Linked DNA regions of Homo sapiens: all the other regions are linked to region 1. The links are contacts of gene promoters, found by promoter capture Hi-C in blood cells and fetal thymus (Javierre and others, 2016). All regions are on one chromosome and are shown on one strand. Each heading gives the region's core, a stretch centred on a gene start or on the middle of the fragment in contact. The rest is flanking DNA. Distances are from core to core; before and after follow the strand shown.

Region 1 (2,928 bases), core at 82-2,581:
AGCTTGTAACATAAAAGTTCTAATCTCATTAGTCAGTTGTAATTTTCCATTTCATTTCTAAACTTTAGAGTGGGCTATTTTTTCCCTTTATTTCCTCTGGAGCAATTGTCCTCTTTATGGCTCTAGTAAAAAGAATCAGGGACAGGCCTCCGTTTTAGATGTAAATGACTAAAATCAAACCAATTAAGGTTTCAGTGCTACAAGAATCAAGGAGGTTTTAATCTCAATTTGTGTTTGCATTTATGACCGTTGGCTCTCCCATGGGAGAGAGAAAAGACGGCCCCTACACCTGGTTTCAGGTTGATTACAATCAACAAGGACCCAGTTTAGTATAGAAGGCTCGTTTTGCATTAAACACCTTTTTGTGCAGAGGAGGTGGTGGTGGTGAAGATAAAAATCTTTGACCAAATCCTGTCAATTTGCATTGTTCTCTGGAAGAATAGGCTTTCAAAAGTTAAGGAACAAAAGAGGAGTTGGTTTTCCAGTCTCCCTTAGGCGGCAGCAGATTGTGAAGCAGCCACCGGGAGGAACCAAAGTATAAATTATCAATAAGAGGACGGTGTGTGTGTGTGTGTGTGTGTGTGTGTGTGTGTGTGTGTGTGTGTCAGAGAAAAGTGAGAGAAGCGAGGAAAGAGATAGGGAACACACATGCTAAGGCTCCGAGGCGTTTTCCACGATGTGCCTGGTTACGTAATGTTGATAATGAAACGCACTGCAAGCAGCATCAATGCATTCTTCCGACCCTGCTCACCACTCCCAGCTGGGATACAATGGGGACGGGAAGAGGGGACAGGATGCCCTGTGCAGGCAGAGAGCTGTCCAGACAGAGGTAAACCAGGCAGTTGGGCAGAACCCGAGCCCAGAGAATTTCTCCCCAGGCCCCGGGACCAGCCCACCGTTGCTGTGGCTCTAAAGATGGGCAGAAGAACCAGTTTCAAAAAGCAGGATCTGGGATCCGACCTCTTAGGTTTTTATTCAGCAGGCAGGGAAAAGGGGTTAGAAGCTGGAAATCTGCATTTCCACTCGGCTCTGGCGACTGAGACAGGAACGCGGACACCTCACGCTGAAAAGCCACAGCAGCGCGTGGGCAGGGCGCACCCCCGCGCGGGGACGCGGAGCTCCTGGAGCGAGAGCGCGTGCGGTCGCGAGCCCGCCGCTCCCCAGCAACGGCGCATGCGCCCGTTCGTCCCTCAGCGAAGGCGCGCTGCTTGGCGGGCGGGCTCTTCCAATCCGAGCCAGCGTTCTCGGAGTACGTATCCAGGAGCTGCAAGCTGAGGGCTGCGGGAGGCGGGAGGAAAAAGTGGGGCCGGGCCTGAGTTGGGCTGACCTGTGAAAGTCTGGGAAGGTCTGCGAGAGAAGCGGAGTGTTTTCAGCTCCGGAAGTGGCAGTTGTAAACTTCACCTCCCGGGGGCTCTTCCCCTTCTGTACCCCTTTGCTGTTTGTCCCCCTCCTCCCGGGTCCTGGAGTCCGTCGTGTTCCAACAGTTTTTGCTCTTATTCCCGTGGGCTGCCTGGGCCTCCTTTCACCCGTGAGACTTGGAGCGGCCCCTGGGGTCTTGGGTGTGCAGCACGGATCACGCGAGACCCCTGAGGTAACCGCACGGTGTGGGGGCTTCGAGGCGGACGACTTGGGAGGGAGGTGTTGAGAGGGTTGTAGGGGCCCCTGAGTGAGTTTGGGGCGGCCCTGGGGCTGTTGGCGTAGGCTTTGGGGCACGCCTCCAGCTCCCTGGGCTGGGTCTCCCCGCCCACCTGGAGGAAGATCTCCGTGGAGCATCCTAGCCAGAGATCGCTGAGGCTGTACCAGAGCGCCGGATGGGGACCAGAGGGGAGGCAGAGGACCGGGATTTGGAGCTTCTTAGGGTTACTGCTGCGGAGCGCTTTCGTTCCCGAGAATCAGTAAGCCCCTCGAGGATAGGGACCACGTCTTTCAGCCCGCTCTCCCCTTTTTAAATGCCGGCCACACACTAGACACTCTACAGATGTTTGATAAACGGGAATGAGTTGTGCTAGACTGTCACCTGCAGCTTCTACCTACCCTCCAGGACTCTGAGAGACTTAGAATCTGAGTCAGCTGTGCGTTTTCCCGAAGCTGTAAATTTTCTGCAGAAATGGAGCCGACTTTTTGAATTTTTTTATTCCATTATGATATTGATCCTAAGAAAATACATATTTCATGTATACATTTTAGGTAAATGAGATAAATACGTCTTTATTTTGTTTATTAGAGTTGGTGTCCAGCTCTTTTGAATACATGACATACCGATGTTTTATGGTTTTCATAATATTGGAGAAAAGAACATACGATTTTGTCACTTTTTTTTTTTTTTGAGATGGAGTCTTGCTCTGTCACCCAGGCTGGAGTGCAGTGGCGCGATCTCGGCTCACTGCAAGCTCCGCCTCCCGGGTTCACGCCATTCTCCTGTCTCAGCCTCCCCAGCAGCCGGGACAACCGGCGCACGCCGCCACGCCCGGCTAATTTTTTTGTATTTTTAGTGGAGACGGGGTTTCACTGTGTTAGCCAGGATGGTCTCGATCTCCTGACATCGTGATCCGCCCGCCTCGGCCTCCCAAAGTGCTGGGATTACAGGCGTGAGCCACTGCGCCCGGCATGTCACTTATTTTATTTAACTGTTAGTTCCTACTCTCAACAAAACAGTGGTAGAGCAGAAGATGAACATGGTTTTTCATAAAATGCAGAGGAAACAAAGGCAGTGCAACCTGCTAAGAGGAAAGATGAAGGGCATAGTCTTAGTTTGTAGCTTTCTGTGTTAGTCTTGGGGCTCAGCCATTTATGAGCTGCGTCCCCACAGGCAAACCACCTAACCTTCCTAGGCGTTAGGTTCTTTATCTGTCAGATAAGGAGGAAGGACTTAGTCTCTAAAGTCTCATTTGATTCTAAAACGTTTTGGTTGTCTCAGTCCCTTGGTCT
Region 2 (2,890 bases), core at 325-2,824, 300 kb before region 1:
TCAGTGTCAACATTGAGACTTGACTGGAGAAAAAATGTGGACTCGAGACTTCCTGGACACTCCCATTCCATACCCACATCCCCTTTGTCAAGTCTGTCCCCTTAAAATAGCTTAATGCTTGATGTAAAGGATGTGTTCAATAAAGGCTTGTTAAACCTGGGGTGTCTATAAATTCATAAAACCAGCATTAAAAAAAAAAAGAACCATGCAATGAAGGCATCCTCTCCTTCCTTTTCCCTGTTTTGATGGAGTAGGTCTCAGAACTGGGAAATGACCAGGGATAATTTTATTTCTTAGATATTTGTTAGATTTTTTTTAATGTGTTCTTTTTTTAAATCTTTAAAAAGTGTTTTTATAGTTTAAGGTAGCCATTGTGAGACTGTATGAAACAGCTATATGAAAATGTCTTACATCATGAAAGAAATAATGCTTTTACAAAAACAGCAGTGCTCTTCAATATATTATATGTATATACTATGTTACGTTTGCTTTACGCTTTGCAGTTTTACAAAATGCTTTCAAATAAATTATTTTGTAGGTTAAATACATATTACCAAATAATTTTTACTTCTATGGGATTGTCTGAAAAGGTATCCTTATACAAGTTTAGTAACTAAGTTCTGCTGAAAATACAGGACCCATCTACTGTACCGAGACAAAGAGAATGTATCGTTTAAAATACACTTTTTAAATACCAATCACAGGCTTAATTTTCTTACAGTGATTACATAAAATTATTTTAATCAAAGCAAACTACACATTATGGGTATAACTTCTTTCAAATTAAGCTGAAATTTTTAAATGGCAAAGAATCCCTTAAGCCAATGGGAGATCTGACACACATAACTTTATACACACACACACACACACACACACACACACACAAACACACACACTTTTTTTTTTTTTTTGCTGCATAAAAGTCAAGTTACGCTTGCAGAAAACTTTCCTAACTACTAAAATAAATAAAAATCAAAAGCTTATAGCTGTATTGCCTACAGGGGAGACCAAATACTATGCCCACACCTTTGAAAAGGTTAATTCATCAGAGCTATATGGAGTTTTAACATTTTTCATTCTAACTATAACATTCTGCTCATCAGGTAATTTTAAAAGACCGCTGCTGGTATGAATATTTTCATTCTAGACAATAAAAATAAAATAAATAACATAGAAATTACTTTATACAATAATAAAAGTTATATGTAAATCCCCAAATATCTCTTCAGTTTTAGGCAATTTCAGGGTTCTTCCAATTTGTTGATGGCTATTAAGTCTTCAGACTATTTATTAGATGTGCATCATGCATGGTACTGAACTATACACTATTCAAAAATGTACCTAAACCAAATATCACTATGCCTTTGAGGAGTTCTATTCTCTGGTCGTAGAATAATGTTCCACAAGCAGAGACAAAAGGGGGAAAGAGGGAAGAAGGAAAAAGAAAGGAGACCAGAGAGGCTGATGATTTTCGGAACACAAGCAATGAAGAAGTTTGGCGCATTTCAAAAGACAAAGCTCCCAAGTATATGCTTTTGGGTGTTTTATTAGTCATCTTAGGTTCCTATTTTTATCGTGAGGTAGATGAAAAGGGAATGGATGAAGGCGTCAGAAAAAAAAAAAGGATGTCAGGTGAAACAGGGTAAAAAGTTAACAAAAGGCAATGAGCTCACTGTATCCTTTAAGATTCTGACACTCATTTATGCAAACGTCAAGTGAAAACTGAGTCAGCCCTTCAGAGAAAAATGGCAATGGAGACACCAACAATTATGGATAGTGTTTACTATGCCCAAACATTTGGACTTTATTTAATTATATATGCATTTGAGTTTATGAACACAATCAGCCACAGTCTTTTTTTTTAACTGTGTATTCCAAAAGATCCCTTAACTAACCATTTGAATAATCACAGCAATTATCACTGTGCCCTATACTCATTAGGAACTCAATGGTGGCTACATTTTTTTCTTTAATTTACTGCAAATCCTAGCAGTCTACTCTGAGGATCCACCTATATTTTCTTAATAGTACATGCTATGGTTTAATGTTTGTGTCCCTCCAAAATTCATATGTTGAAACCTAACCCCCAAAGTGATGGCGTGGGGCCTTTGGAAGGTGATTAGGTCATGAGGGTTCCACCCTTGTAAATGGGATTAGTACCCTAACAAAAAAGCTTGAGGGAGTCTCTTTGCCCTTTTTCCTTCTTCTTTTTTTTTTCTTTCCCCTCTTTCCACTATTTTCTGCTTCCTTCTACCACGTGAGGACACAAAGAAGGCACCATCTATGAGGAATGGGCCCTCACCAGACACTCAATCTGCTGCCACTTTACTCTTGGACCTTGCGGCCTACAAAGCAGTGAGGAAATAAATTTCCATTGTTTATAAATTACCCAGTCTAATGGATTTTGTTACGGCAGCCCAAATGGACTAAGACAGTATATTAATTTCACACATTCATTTTTTCAACACATATATACTGAGCACCTACTATGTGACAAGCATGGTGCATAGGTGCCAAGTACACCATGACAAGCAAAGTAGATCAGACCCATCGTTATAGAACTTGGAGCTCAAAAAAACAGATGATCAAAAAACAAGTAACAATTAACTGCAAAATGAGAAATGGAGTGATAGAAACAAACAAGATGCCAAGACAGAGAAATGGGGGAAGACTAACTGTTTTGGTGGAGTCACTGAGAAAGTGGGAGGACACGCCAGCTGAGAGTGGAGGATGGCCAGCAAAAAGCCCTCAAAAGAGTGAGGGCAAACACGCTCCAATCCGGAGCAGCACAGGGTTTACTCTCACAAAAAACTGTATAAGGCTTGTGGCTGGAGGGTCATGCATGAGGGCAAGAGTTGCCCTCGATGAGGCAGAAGCAGTATGTGGGAGC
Region 3 (2,767 bases), core at 120-2,619, 430 kb before region 1:
TTGACAGCACTAGCAGCGTCTCTGGGACTTCACCAGCTGAACACAATAAGCTTCACAAGCCTGCTCCTCTTGAAGAGAAAATAGTTTTTAAGTGGATTTTATTTCAAGGCAGGCTGGCAATTCAACAGACACAGGCAGGCAAAAATGTTACAGAGCCAACAGCAAGTTTTGTTTTAATTCACATTATGCAAAACAAATGAATTTGAGGTACTTAAAAAAATGTTCTCTTCACCTCATTCTCATTGAGAAAGTAAAAATTGTTCTCCCTCTTTCTGCTAAGAACCATAATTATTATAAAACCACAGGAGGAGCTCTGCGACACTGTAAAATGTTTTCATAGTTAAACGATTGTATCTTTCTTTGTTTTTTGTGGACAGTCATATCTGGGAGATGTCCCTCTGTCTGTGAAGAAAACTCCAGTCTCTTCAGCCTGGAATCCAATCTATGCCCACCTTACCTAGCTGATCCCAAGAAATACTTCTCTACCATAGGTCTCCCTCCTTCCTATTCCTCACTCTCATTCAACCCATTCCCACAACTCCAGCTTTATCCAAAACCTTCTCCTCACCTGGTGTTTCCAACCTCTCTTGCTCAGGCACAGTTGAAGTTCTAGTTCCCTCTCAAAAGCTTTTAATCTGACCAAACCATCACATCCTTCTCTTCTCCAAAATCCTACAACACAGAGCTTGACCCCACAGCTTAGTCCTTAAATATGCTTTCTCATATGATCTAAAAATTGTTTCTACTTATATCTTATTTCACTAATATGATTTGCAACTTCCCTGAAGCAAAGGACTGTGACTCATGCATCTTTTATACCCAGAACGGTACTAAGCACCTGGTAAACATGTGGTGCCTACTATCTTAATTTGCCTTGAACTTTTAGATCTAATGTGGGAACTGTCATTTCAGCTACTTGTATGCTTACCAAATGGGATTTTATAATTTCACAAATATATATGGAAAGATTTGGATGACACTATGGTATAGTGGCATCTTTTCATCATAGACGATTTGACATGGCTCCCTTTAAATAAATTACCATTGCCACTTTGACAAGTTCATTTGTTGGAAACATAAAGGACTCTATTAATATATGGGCTGACCTATATGTATATCTTAGCATTTTCCAATGAGTGAACACTGAGTTTTCCTTTTTGTTCTTCATGTCAATATCCACTAATGTACTTCTAGCATTCTAGTCAATGTATACCAAAAAGAAAGAAGACAGAGAATAAACATTTTGTAATTTATCACTAGTCCAATTTAAGATGAGGTAGGAAAAAATGTATTATTTTAACAGTTGCACCATGCCCTCCTAGGGATGGAATAGGTTCTGAAAAACGCTTTGACGAGCACTTGCAGTATAAATTGAGACACTGAGCATCTGGCCATCAGAGAAACACTTGAAACTGCTCTGAGGACAAGGAAAGGAATTTCTTTGTTGTTTAAATGAGTCGAGGAGAGGAAAGAAAAGTAGGAAAAGAGAGCAGAACAAGCACAAGACCCTATGAAGAAACCCTTTCTCCCTTTTCCATCTGGAAAGAGCCATGGGACGACCCCAAATGGAAGGGCCTTAAAGGGTTTTGGAGAGCTTAATATAGACTTTTAATTTCTTATTCTATGTAAATGGAGACCTCTGTTCCTTGTGCCATCCAAATCTCCCACCAAACTCCTCAACACTTTCTCTGAAGTACTCAGTCTTTGTAAAACTCAATCTCTACATAACTCAGCACCTTCTCAACACAACCTCTACGCAACTCAAACTCTACTCAAGCCAACTTCTATGTAACTCATTCTCTACCCAAATCAATCCCTACTCAAATCAAATTCTTCTCTACTCAGTTAAAACCCTTCTCAATTCATACTTGAATCAGCTCCAACTCAACCTAATTCAAACTCTACTTAAGTAAACTAAACTCTACTCAACTGAGTTTCCTAAACTAAAATTCACTGTGCTTACAGATGCTTTGTGTGGGTGTAGTTTTTGGAAGAAATTGAAGAAGTCTGCATCTTACATCTACAGGCTGTGGTTTCAAGCCACTTTATCTTAAACTTTATCTAGACATCAGAACAAAGGCTCCCAGCTGATGTAAGTTACAGACATTGTTTAAAGCTTTGAATATGCGTATGTAGACTACATGAAAGTAGGAAAATTTTTTCTGGACTGAAGGTACTCAGCCCAGAATGCACGGGTTAGAGAGCAGAACTATGGCACTGAGCAAGTAGAAAAGGAAGCCATTATCAGGTAGCAGGTGTTAAACAAAAACCATAGGAAGTCATTGTTTTGAACTGAGCTCCTGGACTAACAAAACAAAACAAAATGGGGTCACACATGCTAAAGGCCCCATCATCAAACTGAAACTTTTTTTTTTTTTTTTTTTTTTGAGACAGAGTCTCACTCTGTTGCCCAGGCTGGCAGGCTGGAGTGAAGTGGTGCAATCTCAGCTCACTGCACCCTCCACCTCCTGGGTTCAAGCGATTCTCCTGCCTCAGCTGCCTGAGTAGCTGGGATTTCAGGCCCAACAGGGCAAAACAAAACAAAATGGAGTCACACATGCTAAATGTCCCATCATCAAATTGAAACTTTAAGGAAGCAGATAGATCCCTTAACAGACCAGTTTTTCCTGAAAACAGGAGATTCCAGTCTACCTGAGTCAGCATAATAAACATGTCCCATCAGGCCGGGTGCAGTGGCTCACGCCTGTAATCCCAGCACTTTGGGAGGCCGAGGCGGGTGGAGCACCCTGAGGTCAGGAGTTTGAGG
Region 4 (3,244 bases), core at 198-2,697, 270 kb before region 1:
TAATTTACAGCATTGTGAGATTTTAACCAATATTATATATTTAATGCACTTAGCACAGTATCAACAAAACAGACACTTAATAAATCATCTCTACTGTTATTAAAGTGCTTCTGCAGTTGAAAGTCTCTGGTGTAGACCAGGGATGAGCAAAAAGAAACCTCCTGCATGATCTTGCTCCACCCTTGAACTATCCAGCTGTAACAGAAAATTGGCAGAGTTAGCAGTCCTTTACTTGTAGCTCTGCTCCAAAATAAATGTCTCAAAAAGAGAACACAGAACCTTATCCACTCAATATGAGTGTTCGGAAGAGGCAGTTCCCAAAGAGTAAGGCTTCAAAGATGATCTCAAACTGAGAAATCCTATAATGGGGGAGAGAGAAGGTAAAGGGACTTGAGCTCACAAGCTTAGAACCACTCTATCTGGGTTCAAATCCCAGTTTCACCACCCACTGGCTCTGTGACCTTGAGCAAGCTATTTTCCTTAGGACCTCAATTTCCCATGTCACTCAGCTGTCCATAGATTAATGTCAGATGTGAAAAGCACTTAGAACAATGCATCCAGTAGAAAGATGAGTTATTATCACTATTATTGTTGTGCCTTGAATCTCCTAAAGGTACTCGTGAGTGGCACTGTGTGCTGCAGCCTGGGAAAGGTTAGGAAGTGGACCACACACAATGCTTGGCACTAAGAATCCTAAGTCACCTTCTCTGTGGCTGACATGTCCTGATGTCCCCAAATAGATCAGTCTATTACTATTGGTGTCAGGAAACTACAAACAGGGCCAAATTCCACCTGCTGCCTTTTCTTTTTTTGTAAATAAAGTACTTTTTTTCTTTTCTTTTTTTTTTTTTTTTTTTTTGAGACGGAGTCTCACTCTGTCACCCAGGCTGGGGTGCAGTGGCATGATCTTGGCTCAGTGCAACCTCCACCCCCCGGGTTCAAGCGATTCTCCTGCCTCAGCCTCCCAAGTAGCTGGGACTACAAGTACATGCCACCAAACCCGGCTAATTTTTTTGTATTTTTAGTAGAGACAGGGTTTTGCCATGTTGGCCTGGCTGATCTTGAACTCCTGGCCTCAAGTAATCGGCCCACCTTGGCCTCCCAAAGTGCTGGGATTACAGGTGTGAGCCACCGTGCCCGGCCTGTAAATAAAGTGCTATTGAAACACAGCCACAACTCAATCAATTGACATATTGTCTAAGGCTGCTTTCCTGTAACAGTCACAAACTGCATAGCTGCAACTGAGATCACAGAGTCCTCAAAGCCAAAAATATTTACGCTGTCCCTTTACAGAAAAAGTTTGCCTACGTTTGCGCAATGAATGAAACATCAGGTTTCCTTCCCTACCGCATTGGATGCTTTGAGGATAGAGTGAGAAACAAATGTTAAAAATCTATAAAGTTCAAAGGGTTGGCAAATACGAGAAATTATTTAGCCCAAAAAACTCACTGCCTTCAAGATTTAAATTCAAGGGAGAAATAACACTAAGAACAAAGACTGCAGAGTCCCGCTATCAGCTCCATCACTTACCAACTATGTGTGGCCCGAACAGTGATGATGATACCCCGCTTTTGCTTAGCTGAGACCACCAAGCAGCCTCCTGGCCCTTGGTATGGTTGCTGCAGCTAGCTGGCGGAAAAGGGGCCAGCAGGGGAGTTTGCTAGAAGAGGGTCAGGAGAGGCAGTGGGTATCCCTAAAAGTTAATATATTGAGAACTTAGCTTGAGTCTGGTCCTTCCCAATTCCAAAAGTAGGAGGAGTAAAGAATGCGAATGCTTGCAGTGGGGTTTAGTAGAATGCCTCTCTCAGGGCTCCCCCTACCATTCTAGAGAGTCGAGGCACCAGCCATTCTTGCCAGTCTCATCACAGTGCTTCCCAAAGAGGCTGTTTTGTGTGTTGAAAAGATGAAAACAATGCAATTATCCCAAACAGTATTGAGAAGAATAATTTATTTCTTTTTTCTTTCTTTTTTGTCTTTTTTTTTGTTTAAATCATCAGTCCCTATTCTGGAAGAGGTACATCCCAGCATCTAGCCCAGATGTCCTTTTATGCAATAGTTATTTTAACAAACTTTCTTTATTTCCTTCCTTTTCTCTTTCTAAACTAAAAGGAAAAAAAATCTAAAAACAACAACAACAACAACAAAAACCCACTGTGTGTGGTCTTGGGCAAGGTACTTCTCTAAGATTCTTATTCATCACCTGTAAAATGGGAATAACAGTGCCATCAAACTCATGGGGTTGAAGAATTAAATGAGATGTACGTAGGCTTTAACATGATGCCTATTCACAGTAAGTACGAAATAATGTCAGCTCCCATTAAATTATTACTTTCATTATGATTACTGCAGGGAAAAGTTGTGTGTCCAAATACTGGACCACTCATACAGTGCCCTCCCTCTCTTGGTATCTATCCTTATAGGTAATTTTGGTATTAGCAAAGCAGAGATGCTGAGAAGTTAAATCTGTCCTTTTGGGGCAATCTAAGGGAGAAAAGCTTAAGACTTCTACATATTAATTTCTGCTAAGACTAAATTATCCTCCACTCCTACCAACATCCCCCCTGCAACAGCAAAAAAAAAAAAAAAAAAAAAAAAATGGCAAAAAGCTAAATGCCTCTTCTGCATTTTTTTTTTCTTTTTGAGACAGGGTCTCACTCTGTCACTCACGCTGGAGTGCAGTGGCACAATCTAGGCTCACTGCAATCTCCGCCCCCAGGTTCAAGCAATTCTCCCACTTCAGCTTCCCTGAGTAGCAGGGACTACAGGCACATGCCATGTAGTCCGGCTAATTTTTGTATTTTTTGGTAGAGGTGGGGTTTCACTATGTTGGTCAGGCTGGTCTCAAACTCCTGACCTCAAGTGATCCACCCACCTCAGCCTCCCAAAGTGTTGAGATTACAGGCATGAGCCACCACACACAGACTTACCTACATATTTTATTATGTAGGAAAACAAACTTTCAATTATACCGTAAAACAAATTAACTTGTTTTACAGTTAAAAGAAATTTAACTATAAATTAATTTGTTCACCAAATTGCTTGGTGAACCAATACTATCATAAGTAAAATGCTGACATTTTGGTTTCTAACAAGAAGCAATTAAACATAGACACTTACTCAAAACTCGCAAAAAATAGAGACTGCCAGAAGTGATAATTAGTATAACAGACCATATAACTAGTATCTCAAATTTCATATACATTATCCACCAAAAAATGAATTAAAAATTCTAAACATGTTAAAA

The links. Contacts are between HindIII fragments. The CHiCAGO score rates a contact against its expected background, and 5 or more counts as called.
Region 2: a fragment that was not itself captured here is called in contact with the fragment with the promoter of CCDC171 in region 1 in 6 of 17 cell types (non-activated CD4 T cells, total CD4 T cells, activated CD4 T cells and 3 more); the score reaches 7.6 in non-activated CD4 T cells.
Region 3: a fragment that was not itself captured here is called in contact with the fragment with the promoter of CCDC171 in region 1 in 1 of 17 cell types (fetal thymus); the score reaches 8.6 in fetal thymus.
Region 4: a fragment that was not itself captured here is called in contact with the fragment with the promoter of CCDC171 in region 1 in 10 of 17 cell types (total CD8 T cells, total CD4 T cells, non-activated CD4 T cells and 7 more); the score reaches 13.2 in total CD8 T cells.

The regions. Positions count from the first base shown.
Region 1 is chr9:15,551,712-15,554,639 of GRCh38, forward strand. CCDC171 (coiled-coil domain containing 171) reads left to right here and starts at 1,332. Exons shown (of 26, transcript NM_173550.4): 1 at 1,332-1,591. RefSeq lists enhancers at 929-1,574, 1,470-1,639 and silencers at 1,030-1,089, 1,100-1,189. The HindIII fragment of the contact is 6,396 bases long and covers 1-2,928 here.
Region 2 is chr9:15,253,977-15,256,866 of GRCh38, forward strand. All of the region lies in intron 2 of TTC39B (tetratricopeptide repeat domain 39B), which reads right to left. Among named protein-coding and RNA genes, the nearest start is that of TTC39B, 52 kb to the right of the region's middle. The HindIII fragment of the contact is 1,194 bases long and covers 978-2,171 here.
Region 3 is chr9:15,119,703-15,122,469 of GRCh38, forward strand. No RefSeq gene overlaps it. Among named protein-coding and RNA genes, the nearest start is that of TTC39B, 190 kb to the right of the region's middle. The HindIII fragment of the contact is 1,489 bases long and covers 626-2,114 here.
Region 4 is chr9:15,279,055-15,282,298 of GRCh38, forward strand. The region is part of intron 1 of TTC39B (tetratricopeptide repeat domain 39B); the gene reads right to left. Among named protein-coding and RNA genes, the nearest start is that of TTC39B, 27 kb to the right of the region's middle. The HindIII fragment of the contact is 2,092 bases long and covers 402-2,493 here.